Regions from separate parts of the Homo sapiens genome. Here region 2 is linked to region 1. The links are contacts of gene promoters, found by promoter capture Hi-C in blood cells and fetal thymus (Javierre and others, 2016). All regions are on one chromosome and are shown on one strand. The core of a region is centred on a gene start or on the middle of the fragment in contact, and the rest is flanking DNA. Distances in the headings are between cores, read along the strand shown. Region 1 has its middle 6.9 kb from the start of ARL4C. Region 2 holds the start of UGT1A4 (UDP glucuronosyltransferase family 1 member A4).

Region 1 (5,129 bases), core at 856-3,355:
TTTTCTTTTTGTGCATGCATTCATTAACTACATTTTTTTCATTGTTATTATGAAAATAATACTTTCATGCATGGAGAACACAAATTAAACAGTACAAAAAGATTTACAGTAAGACATGAGGCTGCTTTCTATTCCTCCTCAGTTCCATCGTCCAGATAATCAATACCAGTAGTTGTTTGTGTACCTTTTTGGGAAATTATCATGGATTTCATATATATATCTTACACACACGCATTTTTTTTTAATAGAGATGGAAGCATTTGTGTATCATGCTTTTTTTGCTTAACAATATCTGGGTCTTCTTAACCATATCAACACACAAAATTTATCTCATTCTTTTTAATAGTTGTGAAGTTTTTGATTGCGTGGAAGTATCTCAGATTACTTCATAATATAGCTAGCGATGGGCATGTCAGTTCCTGGCTTGTATGAACAACTTTCTAGGGAAGCTTCCTGCTGGCACCAACTCTGTGTCCCTACAGTGACATGTGAATTTAAGCCTGTTTTTTTTAATGTGATGGTTAATACTGAGTATCAGCTTGATTGGATTGAAGGATGCAAAGTATTAATCCTGGGTGTTTCTGTGAGAGTGTTGCCAAAGGAGATTAACATTTGAGTCGGTGGGCTGGGAAAGGCAGACCTACCCTTAATCTGGGTGAGCACCATCTAATCAGCTGCCATCGAGGCTAGAATATAAAGCAGGCAGAAAAATGTGAAAAGACTGGGCTGGCCTACCCTCCCACCGTCCCAGCCTACATCTTTCTCCCATGCTGGATGTATCCTGCCCTTGAACATCAGACTCCAAGTTTTTCAGTTTTGGGACTTGGACTGGCTCTCCTTGCTCCTCAGCTTGCAGGCGGCCTATTGTGGGATCTTGTGATCATGTGAGTTAATACTTAGTAAACTCCTCTCCCTCTCTCTCTCTCTCTATATATATATGTCTATATATATACACACACATAGATGTCTATATCTCGATATCTCTATATATGTGTATGTGTGTGTGTATATATATATGTGTATATATATATATGTGTATATATATATGTGTATATATATATGTGTATATATATATATGTGTATATATATATATGTGTATATATATATATATATATATATATATATCTCCCTGTAGAGAACCCTGACTAATACATTGCATCATCATTCTGCCCAGAATCTAGACCCAATTTTTATATTTGACCTTTTTTTGGCAAGGAAAAAACTGGGATTGTTTTTATTTTAACTATTTTCCCCACCTAGCGCTAGATAAAATCATAACAAAGACATGGTCCATGAACAGTAGGCTGGAATTTAAGAAATACTAGACCAATAAGCCAGAATTCAAGACAGGTAAGCTTCTTCTGTGACAAAAATCAAATTTATTCTCATTTCTTTGCTTTTGCTTTTCTTTATTTTTTCTTTTCGGTCTAAGCCATTATAGGCTGGAAAACTGCTGGCTTTGCTTTCTGGAGTTATCGTGTTTTAGTTTGCCTTTTTTCTCCCGTCTAAGCCAGTCCAACAAAATGGGACGAACTAGGGCTGCATGGCCAGCAGCTATAGCTACAGTCACAGGCAATGGGAAGGCTGGTTCCAGATGGCTAGGCAGATGTCAGGGTGCCTGCCTAGGATGGAGCAGAAGACCTGTCTTCTGGATGGTGAGTGCTCAGTGCACGGCTGAAGTTCCCAGGGGCTGGCTCCCTAGGGATGTACCTGGAGCTTCTATCTGCAGGGTAATTGCAGAGCCCAGCTGCTCTTGGGAGCAGGTCTGTCTGGGCTCAGGGTCTGGGCAAGGCTGGGCTGCAGGATGAAGATATTCATAACTACAGCAGCAAAGGTCTAGTAGCTTCTTACTTTCTCAATAAGGCTTGTAGTTTCTCTCTGGAGTCCTTCACCTTGGTGTGGCATGGATATATTTTGGCTCTGCTAGACTCCCCATGACCACATTAACTAACAATATGGCCCTCCCTTTGCCTCCTTTGCTTAGGATTCTGGAGATGCCTAAGTGCATTCTAAGGTATGGCTCTGTGAAAAAGAATAATTAATTACTGGAGGAAACACAAAACATTAATGAATGCAGTCACCTTTAAGGAGAGGAGTTATGGTGGGGGCAAGGGTGAGGGGGTGAGGGAGGGTGGTGTTCCTTATGAATGTTATACCATGTGAATGTTTTACCTAATTAAAAAATACTAAAAAGTTATCAACTCAGTCATTTCTTAGTTCTCTTAAATGTCAGTTTCTCTGGAGAGAAAAATTTGCTCTGCAGTATGCAAATAAAGGGCTAGATACTCCACAAAAATTGTGATACTTTTGACCAGAATAAAAATATGAAAAATAAGTAAAAGTGGGATGATGAGAAGGAGGAGGAAATAAACTCTCCGCTTTTATTTTTTGTTGTCTGAAGTGTCCTTTCATCCTATCTTGGCACCTTTTTATTTGGGTCTCTTCTCTCCTTAGGGTTTTCTCGTTGTAGCCTAGAGGTCACGTCTTCATGTTCCATATTGGATGCCAAAGAGTTTAGTGGAATTTCCTTCTGGGTTATGTGAGAGGTTGAGTGTTGGGTTTATCACTTCCCTATATGGACCAGGTGGTATTACTTTATCAAGCTGGGCAAACACTGATGGACATCCTCCTCCATCTGTTTCTAGAACTCTGCAGTAAATGCTAGATTGAAGCAAGCAGCTTAGGCTGAGGATATAAACCAGCTGTGCCTTCTCTACTCCTGAACATAAGGTGGCCAATCCCACAGAGCTTACCCGCCCCTGACAGGCAGAGAAGGGGACACTAAGCCTGCCCTTAGAAGCACATCCCTTCATTGAGCACTCATCAAAATGGTACCAATGAAGTATTAAGCTTGGGCCAATCAGATTGTAAGTAAGCTTGGGCCAACCCTCCTCCCTGGTACCCAAGCAGACTGGATAGAGGCCCTTGCTAGTGAACTTGATGAAGTTTGCTCTTTTCCACATGCAAAAATGGAAGTAAATACTGCATTTATTGAGGACGTAAAGGCAACTGTCATGAAGAAAAAACAATAAATGTGGTTTAAAAGTGCTCACAATTTTAATTCCAAGAGCCATTTCCAAAGTAAAATCATCTGGACATTGGTTGACTGGATGCAGAGGGTAAGCAGAGGGAGGGGAAAGACAATGAGTTTGTCTATCATCTTGTGCTGGTTGATGTGTTTGCTGGATAATCTCTTTCTGTCTGTTTATTGATCTATCATCTATCTATATCATCTATCATTTATCTATCAATCTGTCGTCTATCAATCATCTATCTATCTATCTGTCATCTATCTATTTATCATCTATCATCTACCTATCTACAGAGTGACAGAGAAAGAGAGCATGCTCTGAGTCCAATAGTCCATGTTGTTCTCTTCTGGCTTTTGACAGTGACAGAGATTGAGAAATCATGAGAGCTAGATGGAATTAGATGCTGAGAGAAAGAAAACATCACAGACCCAACACTGACGACCAACACAGTCTGTGGCTGATGACTAAATAATGAGAAGACTCACACAAAAAGTAGTATTAGTGATCAGGGAGACAGAGAGAGCACAGCTTTGTAAGACGCACGTTTGGAGGTCCTGGTGGATGGTGTGCCTGTAACCCATGAGCATCTCCATCCCAAACAGCCATCCGCACAGATCAGCCCTTTGGATTTTTCCATAGGTCATCAATGACCTTAGGAGAGCAGCTGCAGGAGACTGGGAGAGGCAGAAGCAAGAGAGTAAAAGGGATTTTCTGTGATTGATGGAGCAAAGCATCAGGTTACATGAGCACTGTGTGACTCATAAGGAAGAAATGATCATCTCAAGTGGCTATCACTCCAACAGAAGCAGCAACGGGCCAAGGAGCTCTGTTCAGATGCTGTGCTGTATCCACACAGAGGATGGTTCTACAAAAGCCAACTGTTGTATTAAAGGGAAGAGTCATCCTGAGTGACCACACATTAGAGAGGGTGGCACTGGCAACACACCCCATCCTCCCTGCTGCACTGTAGAAAGCCAATAGGGTTTGACAGGGGCACAAAAGCGTGATTGTTTTCATCTCTCTGGGGTCCAGCCAAGTAAGCTTAATTAAATGAAAATAATAGCATTTCAGTTCACCTGCAGAGGTGGGAGAAGAGGAATGAAAGTAATCCAAGTTTCCATCAAATACTTCTTGGTTCATGGTGCAGCTCTCTAATCACCTGATATTTATTGTTAACTTGTTTTTTTTTTCCTTCACTGTAGCTATTAGAGTAGAAATTTAATTACTGTGATTGAATTATTAAAGGATTCAGAAATACCTTTTGCATACTAAGCCTTTTCTTCCCCCTGAACTGGAAGCTGGCACTAAGAACTTTTCTGTCACTTTGGTATGCCTGAGTGCTGACTTCCAAAGCTTTGAGTCTTAACATCCTTGACAAAGGTTCATTTAATACATGCCATGTAAATATTAGGGAGAGATGTAAAATAGTGTTATATAAGAATTATATTTGAAAATATTACTGATAGGAAAGATAATGGCTTCTATTTATTATTATTATTTTTTGAGATGGAGTTTCGCTTTTGTTGCCCAGGCTGGAGTGCAGTGGCGCGATCTTGGCTCACTGCAACCTCTGCCTCCCAGGTTCAAGCCATTCTCCTGCCTCAGCCTCAAGAATAGCTAGGATGACAGATGCCTGTCACCATACTCGGCTAATTTTTATATTTTTAGTACAGATGGGGTTTCACCATGTTGGTCAGGCTGGTCTCAAACTCCTGACCTCAGATGACCCTCCCACCTTAGCCTTCCAAAGTGCTGAGATTACAGATGTGAGCCACCATGCCCAGCCCAGATAATGGCTTCTAAAATTTTATATCTATCTCAGGAATGTAATAGAGATCGACAATTATTAAGGAAGACTTGAAGCGGGGGAGCCTTTTAGCTTTTTGATTTAAATTTTTTTTCTTGGAGAAAACAGCAACAACAACAACCATACAAAACACTAGCAGTGGTGATCATTGGGAAAATAAAAACCTGAATTGTTTCAGCCCTGTTGCTTAGCAAAATAAAAAATAAGGCACCCTGATTTTTTTTTCCTTAGAATTATAAACTTGAATGGCCAATAGAGTAGTGGATCTTTTTTATTTTCAGGCTTTGGAC
Region 2 (4,607 bases), core at 1,679-4,178, 790 kb after region 1:
CTTACATGACCCCCCACTGCCACATTCAAGATGATCTTTACTGATAAGGAACAAATTGTTCCTAAACCTGAGGATGAGGTTGCACAGAAGAAAAAGATATCCCAGAAGAAACTGAAGAAAAAATTTACCTATGGCTCTGGAAGAAATTCAGCATAAAATAAATGCAATTAAACTAAAATAATAAGAATGATAACAGATAATATTTATTGGGTGCTCACTATAACAACATTAAAACCACAATGCTTAGGGTACCTGTCCTAGGTCACATAGCTAGAAAAATGAGAGTGAAGATTTGAGCCAGTGCAGTTCAGTCTAAAGAATATATTCATAGTGAAAAACCACAAGAAAAGAGCCACAATCACTATTCAAATGCCTTCCTAATTTTCCACATTTTTACAAAGCTAAAGAACATATATATTTTTTACAATTCAGTAACTACATTGCATAAGGGGAAAAGAAAACCAGTAGAACAAATATCTTGTGGTTTGATCAAAAACAAAAATAAAGTTTAGTGTCCTTTGCAATAATACCTACACTAATAAAAAGAAGTACAGAAATAAGAATACAAAGGACCTAAACTCATGGAAGTTCATATAAATTCAGTGAATATGACAAAAAAGGGCTCAATTCTCTCACAAGAAAGATGGCTCCCTCACTGGGCTTGGTGGCTCTTGCCTGTAATCCCAGCACTTTGGGAGGCCGAGGCGGGCAGATCACATGAGGTCAGGAGTTCAAGACCAGCCTGGCTAACATTGCGAAACCTCATCTCTACTAAAAAAAAAAAAAAAAAAATTGCCAGGAGCAGTGGCACATGCCTGCAGTCCCAGTTACTCAGGAGACTGAGGTGGGAGAATTTCTTAAACCCGGGAGGTGAAGGTTGCAGTGAGCGGAGATCCGGCCACTGCCCTCCAGCCTGGGCGACAGAACGAGGCTCAGTCTCAAGAAAAAAAAAAAAAAAAGGATGGCTCCCTTAATGGATTTAGAAACCAAATTCATTGGTGTGTGAATTTGGTTTTTCACATCCCAGAGTACTATTTCAATGAAACCCAAATATTCTGTATTAATGAAAGTCACCTCTGAAATTTTTGGAAAAAGAATAGATCCCACTATAGAAACTTGGAGTGGGATAGGGTGAGTTTGGTGATATGATCAGCTTCACCTGAGAAACACTTCCCTTCTTGGACACATGTCCATTCATCACTGGTCCCAGCTTCACTGGGCTTATAGATTCACGGTCTTATCTCCTCCCTAGTCCCTTCCACCCACTCTTGATAATTTCAGCATTCCAAGTAGAAGACCCTTTTGACATGCAACCATCACCATACCTTCCAAACTCTACGATGTCCCCACATCATACACCAGACCCCCAACTCCTGGTCAGAAAAACTTTTCTCAGGACAGATCCCTCTCTGGAAACTGAACTCCATGTTTCATTCTCTGATCACATGCATCCATCCCACCTTCACAGCCCCACTTCCACTCAACTGAGTCAACCTCTTTGACACTTCTACTTCCTGTGAGTGCCTAGGTCTCCTGTGGTCACCTCTGTATCTTTCGCAAGATGGGACCACTAAAAATTATCATGTCCACAATTCTAATTTACTGTTGCATCACCGTTCAGCTGAAAATCAGGCAAGCAAAAACCCCAGGATGGATCAGTTCTGAATGTAGTGTCCCTGATCCTGCCGAGCTGAAGGACATGCACAACCATGAAGATGGTGCCTTTACAAACACTGTCCGTGAGTCACAGCAGTCCTTGTCCATCCTCTGACAGACCCTCATCCGTGCCTCTTCTTCCTCTCAGTGACCACTGAAAACTTGAAATACACTAGGCCCCTCAACAGTTTATCTGTTATAAAGAAGCCAAAATAAAATCTTTGGAAAGATAAGTAGATATGGAAGCACTTGTAAGTAAATACATTTTTTAAAAAGTGTTTTGCCTGGAACATTGATTGGATGAAGGCACCAATACAGACCTGAGATAGTGGCTTCCCGTTGGCACAGTTGATGCCCCCAATGAAGACCATGTTGGGCATGATCGGCCTGGGGTAGTCCATCACAAAGTCCCCTCGGAACAGCCACACGGATGCATAGCTGACAAGATCCACCACTGACACCTCTCTCTGAAAAAGCTCAGAGGCAAGACTTGCATAAGGGGCAGAAAAAGTATGGCAAATGTAGGACAGGGCCAGAGGGTAGAGCATGTTCTTGACCCTTTGCAGGAATGTCATGTGGTCTGAATTGGTCGTTAGTAACTTAGGAATATAGGAGGAAGGATTTGGACACTGTGTGCCCTTAAAGTCTAAGTCACATGGAATGTACCTCCAAAAAAACACAGCAGGAATCGACAGGTACTTAGCCAGCACCGCCCCACAGAGGTTAACGGGGTCTGTTAAAACCACATCAAAGGAAGTAGCATTCAGGTGCCTGATCAGGGCCTCATTATGCAGTAGCTCCACACAACACCTATGAAGGGCCAAAGATACATTGTTCATAATTGCCATACTTCTAGAATATCTCTTCAGAAGATGTTCTGTTTCAAAGAACCCTTGAGTGTAGCCCAGCGTAACGCGATCAAATTCCTTCTGGGTCCATGGAACAGCATAGGCTGTCAGGGTGAAAAATTTCTCTTCTTTGATGTGCATATTCACCTCTGGGGTGAGGACCACCGCCTGGTGGCCTCTGGCATGGAGCTCCCGCAAGGCCTCCCGCATGCTGAGCCAGGGGCTGCCATCAGTGGGCACCACCAACACCTTTCCACTCTCAGCCCAGGGCTGGACACTGAGGAGGAGCAGCAGTCCTGTGGCCAGCCGCGGCAGGGGAACCTGGAGTCCTCTGGCCATCTCAGCAGAAGCCACCGACAGCTGACTGTCCACCCCACGCTGTGCCTGCTACATTTGTTTCCTTCGCCTTAATTACCTTGTCATTGAGCCACCTAGCAAATCAGCATGTAATTGGAAGACAAAGTGCCCTCCTCCAGTTACTTATTACCCATTAATCTATAACTGCCTTTCGTTATGGGCCCAACCCTGGGAAAGACCAATCACGCCTATCTTGAAAAGCTCATCTGACCCTGTGCTGCCTCTGGGGAACATCCAAGTTCAAGCTCTTCTTTCTCATTCAATTCCCAACACAAGGCTGTGGACACCCATTTCATGTCACTGCCTTCTACTCTGTTAACCATATTTATCAGGCTGCAGCTGAGGTCTGAGGAGTCACCATTGCCCTAGTCCCCAACCACATGTTCTCTGCTGAATGTGACGCTATTTGCTAACCCTTGAAACTCTTTCTTCTCATATGTGAATAACACAGCACATCCAAAAGACATACAACATTGCTAAGCCAGCTTTCTCTAAACAGAGAGTGTTCAGGCTGGCTATCTGGTTTTGGTCTTTTTTCACACCAGGATATTTCTTGTAAAGCTCAAAGAGGACTCTCTCTGAAGTGGCTGTCAATATAAAAAAAAGCTCCGGGGAGGCTGAGCTCAAGATGTGATGATCATATTCTTGGGAAGGCTTTATTGAGGATTCTCCATCTACACCATGGAATAAGAGGTGCTGCTGTCTAAAGCACACATGGGCAAGACAACCCTAGCAAGGACCCACGGTGGGTTCAGGGAGCTCCTGCTCACCAAAGGACCTGGGGAGCTGGAGCCTGGCCTCAGATCTTGCACAGTCTGAATTCCTCTTCTGAATGCCAAAGGCTCCAGTCTTCTGCAAGTCTGCATAGAGACTGAAGTATCCATTCATCCAGGCCTTTATTTCATCCTGAAGATTATGGCCAGGCTTTTCTCCAAGTCAATCCAGCACCAAGTTCTGATAAGAATGGTTCCTCCAGAACAGAACGGGCTGCATAATTTGTGGGGGCACTACTTCAAATTTCAAAATGGAGAATTAAATGTGTGCCTTTCTAGGGGGAGACCCTGAGCACTCACAATGGTCTCATGCCCATGAGGCTCGTCCTGCTCCAGAAAGTCACTCCTACATGTGCTCGCAAGATTGCTGATGCTTCCTTGTCCTGGTCGCCCCAGGATGAGGTGGGCAGGCTCTCTGGGCTGTGCCCACTTTCCATCTCACTACCTCTGTGTCTACATGCCTGGCCATGTCTGCCATTGCTGGTGAGGCTGAGGCTTCCCTTATGGAGGAAGTTACTCCCATTAGAAATCCACATTGATAACAGATTCCACCTTTGGACACAACCCATGGGACAGGCAGTGAATGGATGCGTCCATCAGAGGGACACCCAGCTCAAGGGAGGCATATGCAGGATGGCACAGAGAGGGCAGGTCTGTAAGGGCTTGAGAACTCCCCAGGGGAGGACGATTTCTGGGGATTTGTGAGGACACAGAGTGCTAGAAAGGGATTCTCAGCTGTGGGTGCAACATCTCAGCTTCTCAACTATTCCTCCAACCCCCTTAAAACTGTCTGCATCTTAAGAACCCTCCTGATGAGCCCGGGGTGAGGGTGGAACATGCCTGGGAGGGTGCTCTTGCCACATTCAAGGGGCTCCCATGTTCTATTTCCATGTAGTGGTGTTCTATTTCCATGTAGTGGTGTTTTATTTAGATAGTGATGTCATCTGATTTCTGGTTACGTGTCTGGCACTCC

What was found. Contacts are between HindIII fragments. The CHiCAGO score rates a contact against its expected background, and 5 or more counts as called.
Region 2: a contact is called between the fragment with the promoter of UGT1A4 here and a fragment that was not itself captured in region 1, in 1 of 17 cell types (naive CD4 T cells). The highest score is 5.5, in naive CD4 T cells.

The regions. Positions count from the first base shown.
Region 1 is chr2:234,501,418-234,506,546 of GRCh38, reverse strand. No RefSeq gene overlaps it. Among named protein-coding and RNA genes, the nearest start is that of ARL4C, 6.9 kb to the right of the region's middle. The HindIII fragment of the contact is 1,495 bases long and covers 1,358-2,852 here.
Region 2 is chr2:233,717,057-233,721,663 of GRCh38, reverse strand. UGT1A4 (UDP glucuronosyltransferase family 1 member A4) reads right to left here and starts at 2,928. Exons shown (of 5, transcript NM_007120.3): 1 at 1,977-2,928. The coding sequence starts at 2,843. All of the region lies in intron 1 of UGT1A8 (UDP glucuronosyltransferase family 1 member A8), which reads right to left. All of the region lies in intron 1 of UGT1A10 (UDP glucuronosyltransferase family 1 member A10), which reads right to left. All of the region lies in intron 1 of UGT1A9 (UDP glucuronosyltransferase family 1 member A9), which reads right to left. It also overlaps UGT1A7, UGT1A6, UGT1A5, UGT1A and the pseudogene RPL17P11. The HindIII fragment of the contact is 5,069 bases long and covers 1-4,607 here.